Linked DNA regions of Homo sapiens: regions 1, 2, 3, 4, 6 and 7 are each linked to region 5. The links are contacts of gene promoters, found by promoter capture Hi-C in human tissues and cell types (Jung and others, 2019). All regions are on one chromosome and are shown on one strand. Each heading gives the region's core, a stretch centred on a gene start or on the middle of the fragment in contact. The rest is flanking DNA. Distances are from core to core; before and after follow the strand shown.

What was found. Contacts are between HindIII fragments. The study calls those that stand out against the background at their distance.
Region 1: a contact is called between a fragment that was not itself captured here and the fragment with the promoter of ADAMTS16 in region 5, in 1 of the 25 tissues and cell types used here (adrenal gland).
Region 2: a fragment that was not itself captured here is called in contact with the fragment with the promoter of ADAMTS16 in region 5 in 1 of the 25 tissues and cell types used here (ovary).
Region 3: a fragment that was not itself captured here is called in contact with the fragment with the promoter of ADAMTS16 in region 5 in 1 of the 25 tissues and cell types used here (thymus).
Region 4: a fragment that was not itself captured here is called in contact with the fragment with the promoter of ADAMTS16 in region 5 in 1 of the 25 tissues and cell types used here (spleen).
Region 6: a fragment that was not itself captured here is called in contact with the fragment with the promoter of ADAMTS16 in region 5 in 5 of the 25 tissues and cell types used here (dorsolateral prefrontal cortex, heart right ventricle, liver and 2 more).
Region 7: a fragment that was not itself captured here is called in contact with the fragment with the promoter of ADAMTS16 in region 5 in 1 of the 25 tissues and cell types used here (lymphoblastoid cells).

What each region holds. Positions count from the first base shown.
Region 1 is chr5:5,334,433-5,337,381 of GRCh38, forward strand. All of the region lies in intron 2 of LOC101929200 (a long non-coding RNA gene), which reads right to left. Among named protein-coding and RNA genes, the nearest start is that of ICE1, 87 kb to the right of the region's middle. The HindIII fragment of the contact is 7,492 bases long and covers 1-2,949 here.
Region 2 is chr5:4,888,356-4,891,676 of GRCh38, forward strand. No RefSeq gene overlaps it. Among named protein-coding and RNA genes, the nearest start is that of LINC02114, 120 kb to the left of the region's middle. The HindIII fragment of the contact is 3,596 bases long and covers 147-3,321 here.
Region 3 is chr5:5,268,115-5,271,464 of GRCh38, forward strand. The region is part of intron 18 of ADAMTS16 (ADAM metallopeptidase with thrombospondin type 1 motif 16); the gene reads left to right. The region is part of intron 5 of LOC101929200 (a long non-coding RNA gene); the gene reads right to left. Among named protein-coding and RNA genes, the nearest start is that of ADAMTS16-AS1, 94 kb to the left of the region's middle. RefSeq lists an enhancer at 3,181-3,350. The HindIII fragment of the contact is 3,475 bases long and covers 80-3,350 here.
Region 4 is chr5:5,355,459-5,358,536 of GRCh38, forward strand. The region is part of intron 2 of LOC101929200 (a long non-coding RNA gene); the gene reads right to left. Among named protein-coding and RNA genes, the nearest start is that of ICE1, 66 kb to the right of the region's middle. The HindIII fragment of the contact is 4,299 bases long and covers 1-3,078 here.
Region 5 is chr5:5,138,911-5,142,162 of GRCh38, forward strand. It overlaps ADAMTS16 (ADAM metallopeptidase with thrombospondin type 1 motif 16), which reads left to right and starts at 1,420. Exons shown (of 23, transcript NM_139056.4): 1 at 1,420-1,629; 2 at 1,754-1,856. The coding sequence starts at 1,558. It overlaps ADAMTS16-DT (ADAMTS16 divergent transcript), which reads right to left and starts at 1,144. Exons shown (of 4, transcript NR_109915.1): 1 at 1,046-1,144. It overlaps ADAMTS16-AS1 (ADAMTS16 antisense RNA 1), which reads right to left. Exons shown (of 2, transcript NR_198969.1): 2 at 3,228-3,252. RefSeq lists an enhancer at 626-1,192. The HindIII fragment of the contact is 9,507 bases long and covers 1-3,252 here.
Region 6 is chr5:5,315,002-5,318,228 of GRCh38, forward strand. It overlaps ADAMTS16 (ADAM metallopeptidase with thrombospondin type 1 motif 16), which reads left to right. Exons shown (of 23, transcript NM_139056.4): 22 at 3,133-3,227. It overlaps LOC101929200 (a long non-coding RNA gene), which reads right to left. Exons shown (of 6, transcript XR_001742583.3): 4 at 2,161-2,203. Among named protein-coding and RNA genes, the nearest start is that of ICE1, 110 kb to the right of the region's middle. The HindIII fragment of the contact is 6,242 bases long and covers 1-3,227 here.
Region 7 is chr5:5,288,953-5,292,237 of GRCh38, forward strand. All of the region lies in intron 18 of ADAMTS16 (ADAM metallopeptidase with thrombospondin type 1 motif 16), which reads left to right. The region is part of intron 5 of LOC101929200 (a long non-coding RNA gene); the gene reads right to left. Among named protein-coding and RNA genes, the nearest start is that of ADAMTS16-AS1, 110 kb to the left of the region's middle. The HindIII fragment of the contact is 4,931 bases long and covers 1-3,285 here.

The sequences.
Region 1 (2,949 bases), core at 373-2,872, 200 kb after region 5:
ACATGGTGATTTTGGAAGCTGAGCTCTCTTTGTCTATTTTAGACCCAATTGAGTCAAAGACGTAGAAAGACAGAAGCCCCCAGGCTGATTCTGCGTAGCTCGTCTCTGACGGTCCGTGGCCACCTTGTCTGCTTGGCAGCAGGGATGACTCCCGTTCTGCCTTTCCCAAGAGCTCCCTGTGCCCAGTTGACTCCCTGCTTAGTCTTCAGCCTCCAAACCCTTCCCGCACGGGCCTCTGGTTGACAATTGGCCCCTGAGACAAGCTCCCCTGGGTGTCCTGGCAGGGCCACACACTCACCATGTGCAAGTACAAGCTCAGCACGTGCCCCCAGCTCCCTCCCAGCCGCACTGGGCTCCCACAAGCCCAACACCCTTATCCATTCTTCTCACCCCCAGTCCCTCCACAGGACATCAAGGGGTCCCCAGCACATTTTCTTCCTGCCATCCACACAAGAACAACCTACCTTTCACCTTTGGTCTGAATATCCTTAGACCTGGCTGAATTTACTTTTAGAATCTCAGAAACGCACTCATTTAACCGAGGAAGTAATTTAATGAGGAAGGAGCCCCTTTTCTCAATAGAGTATCTAGTCCCAAGAAAATGAGGTCACTGGCACAGTGATGAAGGATCCGTGCTGCAAACGCACCTGGTTCTCTTATGGATGGGAGCGCGTGGTGAGATATTTTCATTTCAGCCTGAGTGCTTAGCATTTCTCCTCAGCTTACTGAAAAGAGATAGAAAAAGATGGATGGCTCAGCCTAGAAGACCAGGGCAGAGAATACTGGGGCCTCAAAGAAGAGTCTCTGTCCAGTAGCAGATGGTGTTTCATTGGCTGAGGTATCTGACACTCCAAAGCTCTCAGGCAATAAGTCTGCCAAAAATGAAAAGATGAGAAACTTCTTCCTGCCTTCCACAAACATCATAAATGGGCAAATATGTGCAGAGTAGAAAAACAAAGATTATCTTCCAAATAGGTCCCAATTTTCTTGCAACTTAGTTTGGTGAGGGTGGAGGTCAGGAATTATTGAGAAGAGAGTAAATGTGTATGTTTGAACCATATTTCCTTGTCAATGAAATAGCAAATGTAAAGATGATTAACAAATACTCAGTGTTTAATAAGGATTATTTGAAATTAAGTGGGTGGCCCAAATTATGTATTTATGCACACAAAACCATGGAAAAGGAGAAAGACCTATGCGTGGGAAGCTGGTATGCTGGATCTGGCCTCCCCTTGAAAAGTAAATAGATAAAAGACATAAAAATACTTGGAAAAGTTGAAGCTGTATAAAATGTAAGATACTGTTTTGATAGAGTCATCTATGACTCAGTCATGATTAATTACCATTTTAAAAGGATTATCTTAAGCACACATCTCAGACCTCCTTAAATCACTCCTCGGTTGCTATCTTATGACAAAGGAAAACAAAACTAATCATTGAAGATACCTTTTCTTTTCTCTTCCTCAACTATGACATCTTACAAACCAGGGTTAAATGAACAGTGAGTACGAAAGCAGCCCCTGAGTGTGCATTCTTCTTTCATGCAAAGAGTGCTTTCAAGTAAAGAAAATACCTACTCTCCCTGGAGTTTTAAGCTGCTGTGTGCCAGGAGTCCCCATCCCTGAGGTCATGCTTTGGCTTTAATCACATGAGACATTGTTTGCAGACGCTGTCAGGTCATGGCACTCAGGGACTAGTGTGCACACATTCCTCGAGCCTCAGCAGTTCTGTCCTTAACACCAGGACCACAAAGTTTGTGGTTTCTAGGGTCACAAACCCCAAGAACTTTTCATTCCAGAAACCTCTCCAGGAATCTCCTTCAGTTCCTGTTTCTCTTTGTTTTCCTGTTTTTTACCCAGGTCTATCCACCCTAAGTCACTTGAGACATTAAAACTTTCCAATGTCTGGTAACACCCTGAGGTTAGACAATGTTGTTCTCAAAATCACAAAGGCTAAAAGCACTGGAGGCTGAGTAAGTGTTTAGATAAATTCATTTCACCTAATTCATCAATAACTTTGTCTGAGTTCCTACTGGTGCTACCTAGGTTGAAGAATGAGAAGTGTATAAGCCAATCCCTGTTCTGGAGTGGCTTTCTAATTATATTGTGGAAATAAGTTTTCCAAATTTGAAGCCGCAAGCAGCTACCATAAGAGCCTGCATAAATAAGCATGGAAATTGACACGTTGATTTTAAAATCATGGTGTTGATGTTGAGTTTGGGATGAGGGTGGGAAGAGGAGCCACTTATCTGATTAGGAGGAACTCGCTGAGGTCTGGAGGCAAAAAACTCTCCAGGCTGATGTCACAACACAAGCACAAGAAGCAAAATATCAAAAGTACACGTAGGCTGTGTGAACCATGTACACCGGCTAAGTGCAGGGCCAGGATGGAGGGCAGGAGAGGGGCTGAGGAGGAAGGGTACCTTCCCACAGGAGCCATGGAGTCAAGGCTGGAACCAATTCTAAGGATGAACTGAGACTTGCCAGTCAGTGAGAGAAGACTGGACCATTCAGGAAGCCAAGACAAGTGCCATGGGCAGCACAGGGAGGAGGGACGAGGGTCCTCCTCAATGATGTGGCAAAGGACTGAAGCCGGAATGGGAAACAGGAAGAGAAACTAAGAGGTAAGTCACCAGAAGTACGGAACATAAAGAAGACCCCATGAGCCCTGGATTTACTGCCTGAGCGCCTGAGTCATGGTGCCGGGGGAAGGGGAAAGGTAGGAGCCTGAGAGACACAGGTCTTCCATCTTAGAGGCAGAGAGGCCAGGTTGGGCCAACCGTCAATCTAACTCTTTTCCTTCATGGATCCTAATTCTGACTGATTGTGTGACAGATGCTTTCTCAATAATTACTAAATGGAGCTTTTGGAATTTTTATGAAAGCTAATATAGTGTTTTTCTTTAGAAGCCAAGGTGTCCCAAAGTAGACATCACTGCAGTGGGAGCAGG
Region 2 (3,321 bases), core at 695-3,194, 250 kb before region 5:
CTGTTGGCTGCATAAATGTCTTCTTTTGAGAAGTGTCTGTTCATATCCTTTGCCCACTTTTTGATGGGGTTGTTTTTTTCTTGTAAATTTAAGTTCCTTGTAGATTCTGGATATTATCCCTTTGTCAGATGGGTAGATTGCAAAAATTTTCTCCCATTCTGTAGGTTGCCTGTTCACTCCAATGGTAGTTTCTTTTGCTGTGCAGAAGCTCTTTAGTTTAATTGGATTCCATTAGTCTATTTTGGCTTTTGTTGCCATTGCTTTTGGTGTTTTACTCATGAAGTTCTTGCCCATGCCTATGTCCTGAATGGTATTGCCTCGGGTTTCTTCTAGGGTTTTTGTGGTTTTAGGTCGAACATTTAAGTCTTTAATCCATCTCGAATTAATTTTTGTATAAAGTGTAAGGAAGGGATCCAGTTTCAGCTTTCTACGTATAGCTAGCCAGTTTTCCCAGCACCATTTATTAAATAGGGAATCCTTTCCCCATTGCTTGTTTTTGTCATGTTTGTCAAAGATCAGATGGTTGTAGATGTGTGGTGTTATTTCTGAGCCTTCTGTTCTGTTTGATTGGTATGTATATCTGTTTTGGTGCTAGTACCATGCTATTTTGGTTACTGTAGGCTTGTGGTATAGTTTGAGGTCAGGTAGCGTGATGCCTCCAGCTTTGTTCTTTTTGCTTAGGATTGTCTTGGCAATGCGGGCTCTTTTTTGGTTCCATATGAACTTTAAAGTAGTTTTATCTAATTCTGTGAATAAAGTCATTGGTAGCTTGATGGGGATGGCATTGAATCTATAAATTACCTTGGGCAGTATGGCCATTTTCACAATATTGATTCTTCCTATCCATGAGCATGGAATGTTCTTCCATTTGTTTGTGTCCTCTTTTATTTTATTGGCAGTGGTTTGTAGTTCTGAAAGAGGTCCTTCACATTCCTTGTAAGGTGGATTCCTAGGTATTTTATTCTCTTTGTAGCAATTGTGAATGGGAGTTCACTCATGGTTTGGCTCTCTGTTTGACTGTTATTGGTGGATAGGAATGCTTGTGATTTTTGCACATTGATTTTGTATCCTAAAATTTTGCTGAAGTTGCTTATCATCTTAAGGAGATTTTGGGCTGAGATGATGGGGTTTTCTAAATATACAATCATGTCATCTGCAAACAGGGACAATTTGACTTCCTCTTTTCCTAATTGAATACCCTGTATGACTTTCTCTTGTCTGATTGCCCTGGCCAGAACTTCCAACACTATGTTTAATAGTAGTGGTGAGAGAGAGGGCATCCTTGTCTTCTGCTGATTTTCAAAGGGAATGCTTCCAGTTTTTGCCCATTCAGTATGATATTGGCTGTGGGTTTGTCATAAATAGCTCTTATTATTTTGAGATACTTTCCATCAATACCTAGTTTATTGAGAGTTTTTAGCATGAAGCGTTGTTGAATTTTGTCAAAGGCCTTTTCTGCAGCTATTGAGATAATCATGTGGTTTGTGTCGTTGCTTCCGTTTTGTGATGGATTACATTTATTGATTTGCGTATGTTGAACCAGCCTTGCATCCCAGGGATGAAGCTGACTTGATTGTGGTGAATAAGCTTTTTGATGTCCTGTTGGATTTGATTTGCCATTATTTTATTGAGGATTTTTGCATCAATATTCATCAGGGATATTGGTCTAAAATACTCTTTTTTTGTTATGTCTCTGCCAGGCTTTGGTATCAGAATGATGCTGGCCTCATAAAATGAGTTAGGGAGGATTCCCTCTTTTTCTACTGATTGGAATAGTTTCAGAAGGAATGGTACCAGCTCCTCTTTGCACCTCTGGTAGAATTCAGTTGTAAATCTGTCCGGTCCTGGACTTTTTTTCGTTGATAAGCTATTAATTATTGCCTCAATTTCAGAGACTGTTATTTGTCTATTTAGAGATTCAACTTCTTCCTGGTTTAGTCTTGGAAGGGTGTATGTGTCCAGGAATTCATTCATTTCTTCTAGATTTTCTAATTTATTTGCGTAGAGGTGTTTATAGTATTCTCTGATGGTAGTTTGTATTTCTGTGGGATCAGTGGTGATATCCCCTTTATCAAATTTTATTGCATGTATTGGATTCTTCTCTCTTTTCTTCTTTATTAGTCTTGCTAACGGTCTATCAATTTTGTTGATCTTTTAAAAAAACCAGCTCCTGGATTCATTGATTTTTTGAAGGGTTTTTTGTGTCTCTATCTCCTTCAGTTCTGCTCTGATCTTAGTTATTTCTTGCCTTCGGCTAGCTTTTGAATTGGTTTGCTCTTGCTTCTCTAGTTCTTTTAATCGTAATGTTAAGGTATTGATTTTAGATATTTCCTGCTTTCTCTTGTGGGCATTTAGTGCTATAAATTTCCCTCTACACACTGCTTTAAATGTGTCCCAGAGACTCTAGTACATTGTGTCTTTGTTCTCATTGGTTTCAAAGAACATCTTTATTTCTGCATTCATTTCGTTATTTACCCAGTAGTCATTCAGGAGCAGGTTGTTCAGTTTCCAAGTAATTGTGTGGTTTTCAGTGAGTTTCTTAATCCTGAGTTCTAATTTGATTGCACTCTGGTCTTAGAGGAAATTTTTTGTGATTTCTGTTCTTTTACATTTGTGGAGGAGTGTTTTACTTCCAATTATGTGGTCAATTTTAGAATAAGTGCGATGTCGTGCTGAGAAGATTGTATGTTCTGTTGATCTGGTGTGGAGAGTTCTGTAGATGTCTATTAGTTCTGCTTGGTGCAGAGCTGAGTTCAAGTCCTGGATATCTTTGTTAACCTTCTGTCTCATTGATCTGTCTAATATTGACAGTGGGGTGTTAAAGTCTCTCATTATTATTGTGTGGGAGTCTATGTCTCTTTGTAGGTCCCTAAGGACTTGCTTTATGAATCTGGGTGCTCCTGTATTGGGTGCATATATATTTAGGATAGTTGTTAGCTCTTCTTGTTGAATTGAACCCTTTACCATTATGTAATGGCCTTCTTTGTCTCTTTTGATCTTTGTTGGTTTAAAGTCTGTTTTGTCAGAGACTAGTATTGCAACCCCTGCTTTTTTTTGCTTTTCATTTGCTTGATAGATCTTCCTCCGTCCCTTTATTTTGAGCCTATGTGTGTCTCTGCATGTGAGATGGGTCTCCTGAATACAGCACACCGATGGGTCTGGAGTGTTTATCCAATTTGGCAGTCTGTGTCTTTTAACTGGGGCATTTAGCCCATTTACATTTAAGGTTAATATTGTTATGTATTAATTTGATCCTGTCATTGTGATGTTAGCTGGTTATTTTGTCCAGCAGTTTCTTCATAGTATTGATGGTCTTCACAA
Region 3 (3,350 bases), core at 567-3,066, 130 kb after region 5:
TATAAGCTCTGTGACCCCACTCTCCCTTGGGGCTGTTCTGTAGAGAAGCTTGACAGATCCTGTCTGGATTGCCACCATTGAGAAATAGGCACTACTCAGACATCACAAAGCTTCTGGAATCAACTGTTCCTTAATACATCTAAACCACATTTGTATGTTCCCACGTATCTCCCATGTAAAGTATCTGCCTCACGTCAGCCTCCTTCAGGAGCTCCCCTGGGAGGACCCCAAGATAGGAGCATTTGCGGTATCCTTGACTCACCGTACGTAGCACTGCAGACGAAGGTCTCATCAGACGCTCGGTCACCACAGCTACTGCAACTGCGACTGCTACTGCTGTGGTCAGTTTGTCAACATTAAATCCACCCGTGGGATCCTTCCAACGCACCTACCTCTCTGTTCCTTGACTGTCCATCAAATGGTCTCCCCTGATTCGGTCTCTCACGCCTGCCATCAACAATAACTGCCCAGAGGTATCCCTCAAGGTCCATTTCTCCTTCCCGTCTTTGTTAATAGAAGCCGCTGCCCCATACACTGCATACATCCACCTGCACAGGGATCCCGACTGGACACTATTTCTGTCCTCCCAGGCTAAGGTCTGGCCCATGGGATGTGAGCCTATGCCCTCCATGCTAAGCCCTCAAGAGGCAGCTGCTCCTTCCTCTTTCTCTGCCCACCTCTGTGGCTGCAGCAGGTCCTGGCCTTAGTGAGCAGCTGCAGCCCCTCAGGCAGGGGTCACCTTCTAGGGGAGTAGAGGGCCAAGACGGAGGTAGTCGAGCCTGGTGACCTGGAGAAGGACTGCGCTCCCCGACCCCACAACTGCCCACCAGCTCAGACTCGCACAAAGGGAACCGCTCCCTCCCTTGTTAAGCCATGCCTGCTGGGTCTAGTTGGTGCAGCTCAGCCACATTCTGAGCTCATACACACCTCACCTGTGACCTCTCGGTCCTTAACACCCCTCTCCAGACAGGCCATGCCTCTTGTCATGCAGCTCCTATGCTTCAAGATCCACACTGAAGTTGTCCTTCTGTCTCACTGCATGGCTGATCGTCCCACCGCTCACTGCCCAGGACCCCGGAGCCCCCACCCAGGCCAGAGGCTGTGGCAGTGCTGGAACCCTCCCCTCACCAGCACCTGAGCTGCCTTGCTTCACCCTCGCTCCCCTATACTACCCTGGTCACCTCAGCCTGGATACCCCCAACTCTTGACCCACTGTGCACATGGAGCTCAGCAGTAAATGCTACCCCCAAAATCCCATGTTATCACTCTAAAAGTGTGGTCACCCAAGGATGGTACACAATCCTTACACCTGCCCCTGGGTCATTTGCTCCCCACCTCCCAGGACATTGAGTTCACATCACCTGCAATCTCCTCCATCTCCCTGCCCCACACTCTCCACCTGGGACCTCAGACTAAAGAGAAGGAAGCAATGACCAGCCCTTCCTCTTGCCAGAATCTCCCTGTGCCTCCAACCCCGCTGCTCTGCCCTCCCTCCCATCACAAAGGGCAGATGGTCCCGAGCCTCTAGAGGAGCCTTTGGAAGTTACTATTTTTTCCATATAAGTGACCCATTTCGCCCAGTGGTTCCTGTTGTTTTTCTGGCTGGGTCTCCTCTGCCTCCACCTCTCTACGCTTGGTCTTTCTGGTATTGAGAGATTTGGAGCTGAAGACATCCCTGCGTTCTGCTGTGTCCTATCTTCTACACTTGACTCTCTCAAACACGGTTTAATACACACATGCTGTCAAGAGCACTGTGTGCTGGAAGAAAAGGTGCAGTTCAGCAGCAGAGGGCCAGTCTAGGGGAAGCTGGAGCTGATGTGTCCTACAGCAAGTAGAAACATGAGACTGAGGCTGCCCCAAATCCACTTCAGTCAACCCTGGAGCCCTCCATCCGATGGCACCCTTTGACATGTGGACCTCCTATTTTGGAATGTTCATATTGCCCTCTGAAAGGGGAAACTTTGAGACAATACAGAAGCCTCTCTGTGAACCCAATGCCATGCTTTCCTGCCTGGGAGAATCTTAAGGAGAACCAAGTGGATCTCCCCGTCCATCGCCCACAAATAGCCAGGGCCTGATCGCACATGGAGCTTAGTAAATTTCTGTCTCACAGGAGAAACAAGATCTCCAGGCTCCCTTCCCACAACTCTCCTGCACTGGAATTCTTTCTATGGAGTGGTCTGGTTGCCATGGGTTATGTCCATGGGCCAGAGTCAGACAAAGGCGCTGGGCGGCATTGCACCTTGTCAAAGGTGCAGCCGTGACACTGCCTGCCTCCCTGGGCTCGACCCTGCCTTCCCCACTTCGGGCATGATCCAGGTCTCCTGTCTCCTAGGATAAGGTGAGGATTCCACGTAAATGCTCTCAGGTGTGATAAACACTCACTAAATCTTGGCTATGATTATTGTTGCTGTAAAAGGAGAAAGAAATTCACAACAGTTATGAATTTAGTCTATAAAGCAAAACTATCCATGGCAAAAACACAGAATAATGGACCTACATGGCATATGTCAACCCTTGGGGATTGTTGTTTCATTGTATGATTTTAACAATTGAGTTGGGAACATAGATTTTAATTTAAAATGTTGCTTTACTTTTCTTCTGAAATGCAAAATATATTTCTATTATGTCCTGGATACTAACAATTTTTTGTTCCTGATTAAATGTTCAGGAAACCCATGTTCCGTTTCTCTGAGGATGGAGTGTGCATCTTTCTTACTGAATTCTGCCTCCCTGAGAGGCTTCCCTGGCCTCTAGGCTGCAGGTACTCCGAGCTCTGTCCTCAGCAGCCTGGCAAAGCTGGAGCCACAGCCCCGAGGGAATAAGCCGCACTCTCCTTCCCCACAGTTCGTGCTCTGTCTGACACTAAGTGGGGCTCAGTGGGGTGTGATCTGATGTTTCATGTTCAACTTGAAGGAGGGTTCCACAAGGATTGAGGGGTGGAACCTGTAAAACATCTTAATCCACAGCCTTATCACTTTTAACTTAAATGAAAAAGGAAACCTGCTGTGCTGGCTGGAGCCCCAGCCTCCTCCTCAGCACCCAGAGGCCGTCCTGCAGCCTTGCAGGCTCCTGCAATTGCATTGCCAGATGGGATCCCCTAAGTCCTAAATCTCTGCAGGGGGCAGGGTGTTGGGTGTCTAGAAGTCTTCTTGCTGGAGATTCTCTTAAAATGGCTGTGCAGCCTCGGCCAGCAGGAGTATCCTGGAGAAATAACAGGCATCAGCAATTCCCAGTGGCTCCTCCAGGACCGGGGAGCTGTGCAGCCTGTGGCTCCCGCTCCTTCCGCTCCTCCCGCTCCTCCCTCACACGGAGGCTCCTCCCTGCGCGGGCACTGCCCAGACAAGCAG
Region 4 (3,078 bases), core at 59-2,558, 220 kb after region 5:
TCAACATCGATAAAAATTGGTTTCTCCATGGCAAACCCAGGCCTAGCCTGTGGCACAAATCGTGTTTACTGAGCCACCACAGGCCCCAGGGATTCTGGGATGGTCCTTAACACTCCAGGTGGAGTGAGGAACTGCCGGTGGTCCCGGCCAGAATCACAGCTTCCTTCCAGATTGCGTTCTTACTCCAAGAGCTACACTGCTAAGGAGAACAAGTTAGGCCACCTTCTTGGATACCCCCATTTCCTCACCAGCCCTAAGGCGCTGGTGTTAGACACCAAAGGAATGTGGTGTCTTCAGGCACTCTCCCAAAGCTCCCTCCTCAGTTTCTATTCTACATTTCTCTTAAACGCTTCAAAGTGAATGAATCGACCTGAGAGAAGAGAGTCAAGCTGTGTGAGATACACCTCATAATATGTAATTCCTTGCACTATTTCCCACAGCAGAAGGAAAATCCAACTCACTAATGTAAGAAAATAAAGACATGAACAAAAGAATGAAGGAATGAATGAGTGGCTGGCTGGATGGATGGTTGTATTTACGAAACGTCATTTTCTAACAAATCAATTTTATTTTGTTTAATATGGCCAAAATATTTGGAAGTTAAGGTCATAGAGGTTTAAATTACACAATTAGCAGAAATTTGAGGCCAAAATTAGTTTTTACTTTTCTTTGGAAATCATTTCACCAAAGTACACAATCCCTCCTGGAATGATAAATTAAGTTCAGTGTTACTAATTCTGAAAAATATGCCAATCCCTACTGAGGTGTTGTAAATTATTTGTAAAGTCTGTGGATTAGATGTGCATTTTCATTTTTTTATTTTAAGTTCCAGGGTACATGTGCAGAACGTGCACGTTTGTTACATAGGTAAACGTGTGCCATGATGGTTTGCTGCAACTATCAACCCATCACCTAGGTATTAAGCCCAGCGTGTATTAGCTATTTTTCCTGATGCTGCCCCTCCCCCTGCACACCCCCCGACAGGCCCCAGTATGTATTGCTCCCTCCCCGTGCATGTCCATGTGTTCACATTGCTCTGGATGGAGCTGGAAGCTACTATCCTCAGCAAACTAACACAGGATCAGAAAACCAAACACCACATGTTCTCACTATAAATGGGAGCTGAAAGATGAGATGTGCATTTTTAAGTAAAAATCCAATTTTTCAGCAATGAAGTAGAAAGTGTGATTATGTCAATACTTGTGTTTGTGTGTTTGTGTTTCTATAGACCTCTTAGAAATAATTTAAAATTATAACATTCTATTTATTTGTAGAATAAAAAGTATAATTAGCCACCTTGTGTGTCAAGCCTGAAGATTTGAGAAATTTACCTTCAGAAAGAAGTGATTTTTTCCTACCTTAAGTTTGTCACATCCTGGAAATGCCTATCAAAGTGAAACTTTGGACTATTCTCAAGCCAGAGATCACAGGCACTCTAGAGGACAAAGAGGTTGGTGTTTTTGAGAAACCAGTGTCAACTATACTCACTGAAATCATTAAAAATGTAAACAGCCTCTGATCATGACACAGAAACTCACTTTTGGACATGGTATAGCCCCACACCTAAAAGCAAAATAAACCAGCCCAAAATACACAAACATAAAGCACAGGGTCACCAAGGAGCCACTAAAGGATTTCTTATCCTACTCCAGATCATAAAAGACAGAAGTGAATGCAACCTTACCTAGGGTTGGGGACCTCATCTATGCATGAGGTCCCAGCAGCCAAAGGACCCTGGGAAGCATCCAGGTTACCATAAAGAAAAAAAGAGATAGCTTGGAGAACCAAGCTGTCCAGACAATACCAAATATTATTACCTTGACTAATAAAATATTTCTCTCATCACATTAAGATGAGTGTCTATATTCCCTGACGTTCCAAAGAGAAGATAACTGCAGCACATGTTATGGAATTAATATTTCAGGTTGTTTAATGTTTTGAGCTGCCTTTTTAAAAACTTTGATTGATCATCAGGTCAATATAAAGTTAAATCCCTTTGTATGCTTTGACACAGCCTGAGCTAAGGTCCTTATAATTGTGACTTACTTAAAAGGGGACTAACAACATACCTATGCTGGCGTCCTTCACGAGGGTGTTGACTGATGGTCATAGTACATGACAAGCTCAGATGTCAGATATGAGATATACGTGTCAACTTGCTTGCTTTATAGAAAACAGCGTTTCAGGGACAACATGCGTATATGACCAATTTTTTAAAGGCAAATCTTCATGTAAATTTGGGCCAACTATGTCCAACTCTTCCTGTGGGTGCCTGCAAGGGAGCCCTAGACCCTGAAACTACAGATGCTGTTTGGAAGCTTTGGTTAAGAACCAAGACTGAAGGTCTATCAAATCTTCAGATAGACCAAGAATGACTGAAATCCATTGGAGAATTCTGAGGACCAACACAGATCAACAGTAAGTATTAAATTGTTTTATTTCTTTAGCACCCAACTCTTCACTCCCAAAAACATCTAAGTTGTTTCTAAAATTAGGTAACAATATCATTAACACTAGCATAAAATGATGACAAAAAGATGAATAGTATTCCACTTGGCCTTTGGTATTTTTCTTTACAGGGGGATATCTTTCATTTACTTTCTCATCAAGACTTATATGGGTCCCAGGAAATGGATGGTGGCAACCTCAAACCAAGATGTTTGAGGGGTGCAACTGGAGCCCAGTGAGCAGATTTTCAGCCTTGCTAGAGAAGGGAATCAAAATAACATGTGGAAGAACACTCTGTCCCATTGCTTCTCCGAATGTCCTCTCCTCTCTTTCCCCACACAAATGCATTTCTTTTTCAAGTACTCACATTTCCACAAGATAAACAAGGCAAATATGGAATTTCCCTTCCACATACTTTCTCTTTTATTTTTAAGCAGAAAACATACTACACACAAAATTCACTGGGGAAAATGGTTCTATTCTTGACAGGGAAAAAACAAAGATCAAGTTGTAAAATTGTAATTAATAGATTGTCAAGACTGCAAGCTCTCTCCGGAGTGCTGGTTAGACCAGTTCTCTCATTTTCCCTCTCTTCTTATGCCTCTTGGGTTGGGTGCATGGATTCGCCAT
Region 5 (3,252 bases), core at 170-2,669:
CCCGCCTCGGCCTCCCAAAGTGCTGGGATTACAGGCGTGAGCCACCGCGCCCGGCCTACTGCTCACTCTTTGGGTCCACTCTGCTTTCATGAGCTGTAACACTCACCGTGAAGATCTGCAGCTTCACTCCTGAGCCCAGCGAGACCACGAGCCCACCGGGAAGAACGAACAACTCCAGAGGCTCTGCCTTAAGAGCTGTAACACTCACCGCCTAGGTCTGCAGCTTCAATCCTGAGCCAGCGAGACCACGAACCCACCAGAAGGAAGAAACTCCGAACACATCTGAACATCAGAAGTAACAAACTCCAGACGCACCACCTTAAGAGCTGTACCCACTCACCGCGAGGGTATGCGGCTTCATTCTTGAAGTCAGTGAGACCAAGAACCCACCAATTCCAGACACACTATGGGCTCACAGCGTGTACTCGCGCACACGCAGTCAGGTGTGGATGTACACCCGCGCACACCCAGGCACATGTACACCCGCGCGCTCACACACCCCATCCAGCTACAGCAGAATTCTGGCCAGGCTGTTGACCGCACACCTGCTGCCTCCTTGGCCACCCTGTCCACACAGTAGCCCGATCGACCCCCGTGGCGGCCGAGACCCAGGCCCATCCGCAGCCCTGAGACCTCCCTAGGGATTGCACCCAGCAGCCAGTCACCGGCCTCCGCGGCCTGGCCAGTTGAGGGTGGCCGTGACCGCGGGGCCAGGAGCGCCGCCACATCTCGGGGCAAATGGCGCGGGGGAAGAGTTTCCTCCTCAGCCTCCCCGTCTCCGATCGCTCCGCAAACTCCAGAGCGAGGCACGCGCCTTTAAAGGCAGGTCCGCGGCTCTCCCACGTCCTGGCGCCCGGTTTTCCGCACCCAGTGTCCCCACAGCTGTGCCCGGGCACAGAGGCGCGGCCAGACCGCACTCCGCGGGCTGCAGGTGTCCCGGCCTCTGGCGGCGCCGGTGCGGCCCGGAGGTGGGAGCCCGCGGAGCCACTGCAGTAGCTGGAGTCCCGCCGAGTCCCCAGCCCCAAGGCAGGGCAGGAGCGCGCACCGGCCGGAGGTCCATGCTGAGCATCGCCCGCGCCGGTGCCCGGCAGCCTCTCCAACTGTGTGGTCCCCGCGCGGGCAGAGAGGCACGGACTGCAGGCCGTGGGCAGCTCCATCTTCCCGCGTCCTCCTCCTCTGGCGCTGCCCGCTGTCTCCCGCCTTCCCTCTGCTCCCCGCTCGCCTCCGCCTCAGCGCCCCGCTGACCTCGCCTCCTCCCCTCTGCTCTTTGTCCCTGCACTCTCCCCTCCTCGGTCCTCTGACCCCCCCGCCCTCACCTCCTCCCCTCCTCTCTCCCCTGCCCGCCCCGCGCTCTCCCACCGCTCCCGCCGCCCCCGCCGCCGCGGCTGCCACTCCGCCCCCCGCGCCGCACGGAGCTTCAGTAATAACCCCGGCGCGGCGGCGGAGTCGCTGTGGGGAATCCTCCCGCGCTCTGCCTGGGTCGGGTCCTCCCTGCCCGCTCGCACGCTGCCGGCCGGGGACCCTCCGGTGGCCCCTAGCCCCTCGGAGCGCTCCTGGATGAAGCCCCGCGCGCGCGGATGGCGGGGCTTGGCGGCGCTGTGGATGCTGTTGGCGCAGGTGGCCGAGCAGGTGAGTCCCGGGCGCTCCCACCAGCGCGGAAACCGCGGGTCCGGACAGCTGGAGGCGAGTCCCCCGCGGCTCCTCTCCCGCGGACCCCGCCGTCTCACCGCGATGTCGCCGCTGTTTTCCGCAGGCACCTGCGTGCGCCATGGGACCCGCAGCGGCAGCGCCTGGGAGCCCGAGCGTCCCGCGTCCTCCTCCACCCGCGGAGCGGCCGGGCTGGATGGAAAAGGGCGGTAAGTCCGTGAGGTGGGGGCTTCTAATCCTTGCCATTTAGCAGCTCGTAATCTCCGTGCCGCTGGTTTATTAGGTGCTGTGAATGTTCACGACTCTGTGGAACCCTACTTTTAAGATGCTGTTGTGAACTTTTTTTTTTTTTAACTGTATGAGCGAGCCCCGATGAGTGGATTTCCACCAATATTTACATTTTATTCCCTGGCAAAACGGTTTGCCAGAGTTATTGATATAACATTAGGAAAAAGGTGAGGAAGTTCATTTTATTTTATTCTAAAGAGCTTAGGAAGAATCTAAAGCTATTAATGTATGCATCAAAGCCGTCATAAAGAGCAAATTACTTTCTTTTCCGTCCCCTTCTACATCCTCGGATCCTCCTTCCCGTCCCCAACCTTTCCTCCTTCTCCTCCTTTATAGATTAAAATATTCCTCTATCGTTGCTTATTCTCAGTGAAGGAGATAAAAGAAGCGCTTAGCATCTCAATACCAAAGTTAATGCTCCAACAATCAGGGCGTACTTCAAACATAATAGTGCCTGAAATGGCTAATCAGCTGATTGTGACACCATCAGCAACGTTCATATCCTGGGCCACAATTTGACATGAGGGCAAGTCTTATTCTTTTTCAATGCATGCTTTTACTTCTGCCACTTACAAGTGACATTTGGAAATTTGCTGTCTTATGGAAAGGGATCTCTGTGTCTTCATACTGCATCAGGTAAATGAGAACGCAGGTGTGTCGCACTGGTTGCTAGGTGGTTTTTTAACCTGAACCCATCCAATGACAGTTAATAAATATTATTTTGCATTGTTACCAACAATAAATTGCCGTATCAAATGTTAATATTAATTGACTTTTATAGGAAGAACTAGGTTTCATTCTCTCAATGTATTTCCAGAAGATCTAGAAAATTAAAGTTAACAATTCAGAATTTCTCAGTATAGTTATTTCAATTTGATAAAATAACATAAAGGCAAGCACTTAATATATGCATTAACTTTTGAAATTATTCCCTGCCAAATGAGTACACAAATAGTATATAAGGTGACCGGTGTCAGATTGACGCTCACCATAGTACCTTTTTGAGAACCACCAGGGGGCGCTAGGTGCAAATGATATAAAATGTTAAAAAAAATTGTCACAGTGAATTTACAAGAGAAAGTTAATTATCTGTCCATTTACAGACTATCCTCTTGTGGTTGTCCTTGTCCTTTTTAGGGTTTTGCTTACAATACTAAAAGTTAATTCTTACAATTTTAAAGGTTAATTCTAATTCACCTTTTTAAGTAAGATTTTTGTAAAAAAAAAAAAAAAAATTCTAGTTCCCTAAAACCATGAAAATTCCAGAGGGACTCAGGAGATTTCCACAATAGTTTATGGCATTTATGAAGTTTTATT
Region 6 (3,227 bases), core at 713-3,212, 180 kb after region 5:
GCTAATGAAGACATCTGAGATGGTCAATTTATAAAAGAAAGAGGTTTAATTGACTCACAGTTCCGCAGGACTGGAGAGGCCTCAGGAAACTTACAATCATGGTGGAATGGGAAGCAAACACGTCCTTCTTCACATGACGGCAGCAAGGAGAAGTGCTGAGGAAAGGGGGAAAAGCCCCTTGCAAAACCATCAGATCTCATGAGAATTCTCTCACTATCACAAGAACAGCATGGGGGTAATTGCCCCCGTGATTCAGTTACTGCCCTCCTGGTCATGCGGGGATTATGGGATTATGACACTTAGGGATTATGGGAACTACAGTTCAAGATGTGATTTGGGTGGGGACACAGCCAAACCATATCAGTGATTAAAATCTGCTGAATAAGTGAATCAGTGACAAAAATGAATCAAACCACATATTAATTATTTTGGAACTGTTTAAATGATACAAAAAAAAAAACCAATGGCTAGATCTCTTGATTTCTAATTGAGGCATATCTTAAGCAAGAATGGAATTCTGCCTGAGCCGCTTATCATAAAATAAATCTAACTCAAGAAACGAAAGATGTTGTGGACACTGATGGATGCGGATGTGGCCAAAGGGTTCCTGTGAGCTGCTGTCTCAGCAGGGTGACCACAGCCCCAAGGTTCTCGGCGCACTGTGTGAGCTAAGAGGGTGTCTGGAATGCAGACAGCAGAGAAAAAAGGCAGAAATGTGGTTCTGCAGAATGTTCCGAAAGATGTAATAAGTGATGGGCAACATCTGGCTCTATCCTTGTGACCCTGATAATTCTGAAATCAAACGTGAATCTCCCCACATTATTTTTTCTACTTTCCGTAGTCATATATTGTTGGCAACTTTTTCTAAAATTGGGTTTGAAGCAAAGGGAGTAAGCCTCCCAGATAAGTTCCAGACACATGCTCAGGGGCTCAGCCATTCCTCATCCAGAGGGGAAAAAAACAGACAAACAGTTTCAGCTTGTGACTTTCAGGGCCATTTGTGTCTCCAACTTTTCTCCTCTCAGTGGGCAGATAAAGATGTTTGACTTGCTCCATCACTGAATCCCATCCCCAGCGATTTAAGTCACTTCGTAAAGCTCTGATTGCAGGAGGTCCCAGAAAGGTTCAGTCCCTGGTTGTTCACTTGCAGGCTGGTTTGGGCTGTGGAGAACCAGCCCCAGGCCTGATGCCTTCACTTGCTGGAATGGTCTCTGACATACTCTCTTGTAGGTTTGGGGCAGCAAAGGGAGTCATGCATGTCCCCAGTTTTTCACAGTGTGATCCTTGCATTTTAAAGCAACAGTTTTGTTGTTTTTTTCACCCACCATGCACCAGGACTTCCAAAATGTTATCTGACCCAATCTTCTTGCAGGTGCTCCTTTAATTGCTTACATTTCCAACATATTCCAACCCTAGCCTCGTTTGAGCACAATTTACATGATTTAGTCTAGACAGTGGGTAGTTTTATTTTTCAGATGACTCAATCACAGATTCCAGTGTCTCTGTATCTTTAGCTGCCTAACCACTGATTTATTTTCAGTGGTTGATCTCAGATGGGTCCTGCTCATGTTCTGTGGCATGTGCATTATGCCAGCTCATGAAAGATAATCTAACTGAGCTCACTCCCTTCCTTCCCTCTCTCTCCCTGTGCTGTTGATACTCCAAGTATTGGGGGAGCCTCAATAGGATGCCAACACCTTAGCAAAATAAGCCCCAGCAGCTGGCAGTGCCCACCCTCATGCATCAGGGGCCTGGGAATGTGGGTGATGGTGCCACTGTAAAGATTGGCTTGTCAAGCTTCTCCCCGTCGGACCACCAGAAAGGGTGGCTTGTCAAGGGCATTCCCTGAAGGGCACTACTTCTTTCACGCTAGGCTCAGAGAACAAGCCTGGTATCCCCAGATATGCACCAGTTTCCTTGTGGCCATGCAACCATCATTGACACACTCAAAAATACTCTAGACTTCCAGACACTTCTCCTTCTATCCATACCTAGATTAATTTTGGCCAGCCACTCACAGTTGTAGACAGAGAGACCACCTCAAATGGTCTGGGTGGAGGGGCGGTGCTTTCAAATGCAGAGGCAAGAGGAAATGAGGGGTTACCCCAACCAGCAGTGACAAGGGCTGGTCCTGGGGACAAGAGTTAGGGAAGTAAGTACCTTTGCGCCAGGTCCCAGGTGGTAACATCAGCAACCGTGTTCTCTGAAATACCGTAAATAGAAACCAAGATGTTAAGTCTTTTCATGTTTTTCAATCAGAAGGATAACTTGTAGGTAACTTTATTGGCAGGGGGATCTAAGTTTGTTCTTCCTTGCTGCCTGTAATTTGAGGAGATAATATGCCAATCCATGAATATCAGCTTTTTTAATCAGTATACTTACTTACTTACTTACTTATTTATTTATTTTTGAGATGGAGTTTTGCTCTTGTTGCCCAGGCTGAAGTGCTGTGGCATGATCTCAGCTCACTGCAACCTCTGCCTCCCAGGTTCAGGCGATTCTCATGCCTCAGCTTCCCAAGTAGCTGGGATTACAGGTGCCCACCACCAGGCCCAGCTAATTTTTTTTCTTTTTTTAATAGAGACGGGGTTTCATCATGTTGCCCAGGCTGATCTCGAACTCCTGACCTCAGGTGATCCACCCGCCTCAGCCTCCCAAAGTGCTGGGATTACAGGCATGAGCCACCGTGCCCGGCAGTATATTTACTTTTTTAAAAAGTGAACTCAGCCCCCACAAAGCCCAAGCCCGGGAACCGTCTGTTGAGACTATAGAATCCAACTCTAGCGGTTCAAATCCCAGCCTGAGCAAGTCCTGTCACCGCTCAAGGCTCAAGGCTGTCTTCTATCTGAAAACAGGAAGGGTTCCAGGAGCTATGTCAGCTGGTTGGTTTGGAATGCTCTGCTAGAGGCCTGGCCCAGCACATGCCTGGTGCTTGCTTCTGGAAAAGGTGAGCAGGGACCGTGCTCACTCGCGCACATCGTGGCCAACCATAACTCCACCTGCCTCTGCGACTAAGTCGCTCTTCCCTCACTGGCCTGCAGCAGCAGGCCTTTTAGAAAGGTGGGCACACTGAGGTTGACCAGGTGCCTGAGAGCCTGGGGCCATGGTGACATGTGTGTGTTGCTCTCACAGTGCACGGCCAGCTGTGGGGGAGGCGTTCAGACGAGGTCCGTGCAGTGCCTGGCTGGGGGCCGGCCGGCCTCAGGCTGCCTCCTGCACCAGAAGCC
Region 7 (3,285 bases), core at 527-3,026, 150 kb after region 5:
AATTCTAACAGCAGTGCCCCATAGGGTTGTTAAGTGGGCTAATGCATGTGAATGGGTTACTTGGTGTGTATGTGTGCTTTAAAAGGAACCAGAACTGGTCATGAGAGTCCAGGCCCTGGAGCTGGGCTTCCTGGGTGTAAATTCCATCTCACACCACTTATGTCACCTTTCTGCACTTCACTTTTAGGAAATAATAGCATCTGTCCACATCATTGGTTTGCAGGGAAAATTAAACCACTCAACAGATAATAGAAAAAAAAGCTTAGTGCCCTGCCTAGCATTTGGTTTGTCCTCCAGGGGCACTGATTCTGCGTGGCTGTTAATAACCAAATTCATACACTACATGTAAGGTGCGACTGGTTTGCTTTCTTACTTACTGCAATATTTGAAGCCGTCTGCATAAGCTTCATTTCACCCCTTTAAGATTTGCAAATATTTTGTTAGAACTTCAGGCTTTAATATGTGGGCTTGTTGTTGTTTGTTGTTATTGCTGTTGTTTCATTGTTAACATTCCCAACAATGGGGTCATTTGTCCTAATCTCCTAGTAATCCATGATAGCTAGGCTCAACATAGGTATCAAACTCCAACAGGTCTATCTTGTAAGGTGTCTTGGGTGCTGTAAAAACACTAGTTGCTTTCTGGTTTTTACAGATATGTCCAGTTCGATTATTTATAAGTAGAATTGGTTAAATCAGCAGGTGGCAACCTATGGCCTGTGAGCCAAGTGCAGCCTGCCATACCTGATTGTGTAAATAAGGTTTCATCAGAACAGTCAGGCCTATTCATGTACATGGGGTTTCCAGTGGTTTTCTCACTGATGCAGCAGGGATGAGTCCTCACAGCAGAGATCTCCACCGGCCTGAAATATTTACTATCTGGCCCTTTAATAAGATACTTGCCAACTTTTGGGCTAGATGAAAGCATCCTCCAGCAAAATGAGTGTCTTAATCAAAAGTGCTGTCTCTACATCACCTTTCAATCAGGGCAAAATAGCAGTGTTAATGGCATGGCAGCCAAGAATTTCCAAGCAGTTCAGAAAACCTAAACCTAGTTTCAGTCTACGGTCATCTCATTATTAGCATGCAAGTATCTTTCATTGACTTAGATGATGTATTGTTTAGTACATTTATCTTCTCAGCGATTTAGGAAACATATTTCCTTTCTCAAGAAAATGGCTTGTCTTCAGGATAGCAAAATCTCCTGAGGTAAAGAAGCAAGTCAGATCTGAAATCATCAAATCTGTGTAACCCACAAGCTTGTGTTCTTGCAGCTGGCTTTCACCGAAACTGTATGAGGAAGACATTTCCTAGTCAGCTGTTAAAATGTCTAAACGAAGTCAGTGGTCTCACGATCACAGTCCATGAACTTTGTGGCAGAAGGGCCACTTCTCCCCTGGGAATGTTAATAAGGTGTTGCCTAGGCCGGGCGTGGTGGCTCATGCGTGTAATCCCAGCACTTTGGGAGGCCGAGATGGGTGGATCACCTGAGGTCAGGAGTTTGAGGCTAGCCTGACCAACATGGTAAAACCCTGTCTCTACTAAAAATACAAAAATTAGCTGGACGTGGTGGTGCATACCTGTAATCCCAGCTACTCAGGAGGCTGAGATGGGAACTTGAACCAGGGAGGCAGAGGTTGCAGTGAGCTGAGACCGAGCCTTTGTACTCCAGCCTAGGCAACGAGAGCGAAACTCCATCTCAAAGAAAAAAAAGGTGTTGCACAAAATAGAGGCGCTAAAATTCTTGTTTCCATGCTGCAGTGGGCTTCAGCAGCTTCTCTTGGGAGTTAATCAAGTTTTTAATATCATTTTTCTGTTTGAAATGAAGGATTTGTAAGAGGCACTGGCAGTCTTTTCTTTCCCCTTGTAAACTTTCACTGTGTAGGACCTGAAAGGCCTGTTCTTCCCGCTGTGACCATTTGCTTTCATTCTCTCCCCAGACGAGGTGGAGAACACCTGTGCGGGCTCTTCGGGCGTCACTGAGATGGCGTTCACTTTCTTTTCGTTAGGTATAAATAAATCCATCCAGTACAGTTACCACCACTTGGGAGCATTGTTTTCTGCATTCTTTCAACCTCCCCATTCTTCTAATTTTAGAAATTCTAAAATTTCTCAATAGTTCTCATAAGAGTAAATATTCCAAAATCACATAGTTCCATGTGATGACCATATCATGACATCATTTTTACCAATGCCGGAAAATCACTGAGAGGCAATACAACAAAATTAATGTCTGTGTCTCTGTGATTTTTTTTTTAATTCGTATTTACCAGTCAGGTCTTTGTTGATTTTCAGAAGGGATGTATATAATAAGTATAAAATAATACTGCTATAGGAAAACATGGCTTTCCCTCTTGTACACAGGCTGAGGGACTGAATGTCTGGAATCCTGTGGACCACATGTGAATGAGCTCCCTTTCCCAGGTGAGGGTTGAGGAGGAGAAGAGGCAGGGGACAGGATGAGGAAGAGACAAAGGAATGAAATCATGATAACCACAGCCAGCCCTTCCCGAGCACTTCCTGTCTGCTAGTCCTCCCAGCCTGCCCAGCACTGCATAGAAAAGCTACTGTGACCATCTCCCCTTTGCGGAGGAGAGAATGGAGACATTGGTGTCCCGTGATTTCCTGAAGGCCGTCCAGCTGGCAAGGTTGGAGCTGAGGTTGGAACCCAGGCATCCTGACCGCAGAGCCACGGCTTCCCCACCCCCCCACCCCCACACCACAAGGCCTTAGACACAGAAAGGCTGTCCTCGGGCAGTCAGCCAGCCAGGGTCATGGACCAGGGCAAGACTTCACAAAGAACTTTGATTTGTGTTGCCCTGTTGGTGCCTGGCTATAACTTTATGGATTTCTACATCCACAGGCAAAAGCAAATCTGCTGAAACACAGGTACATTATGGTGAGCCCAAAAGGAAACTTCTAGTGATGTTACTATATTTAGGAAATAACATAGCTCTGTATATGTGAATTGAGGAGGGTGACGTTCATTGTCAACTGGTCAACAAATGTTTAGTATTTTGCATGTGCTCAGTCCTGTGAGTTTCACAGAGGCATTGATGAAATGTCAAATTATAAAGCATAAATTCTGTGGACAGACAGAATGGCCCTCTCTAATGGAAATGAGGCTCTGGTCATAGTCAAGCCACCAGCCTCTCACTCTTGCAGCCTCAGGAGACTTGAGTAGAAATTTCTACCTACAGTCTAGCTTCCTCTAGTGTCTTATTCATTCTGCAGTCGCAGTGATCTTTCTAAAACACAAACCTGGGCCAGACGCAGTGGCTCACGCCT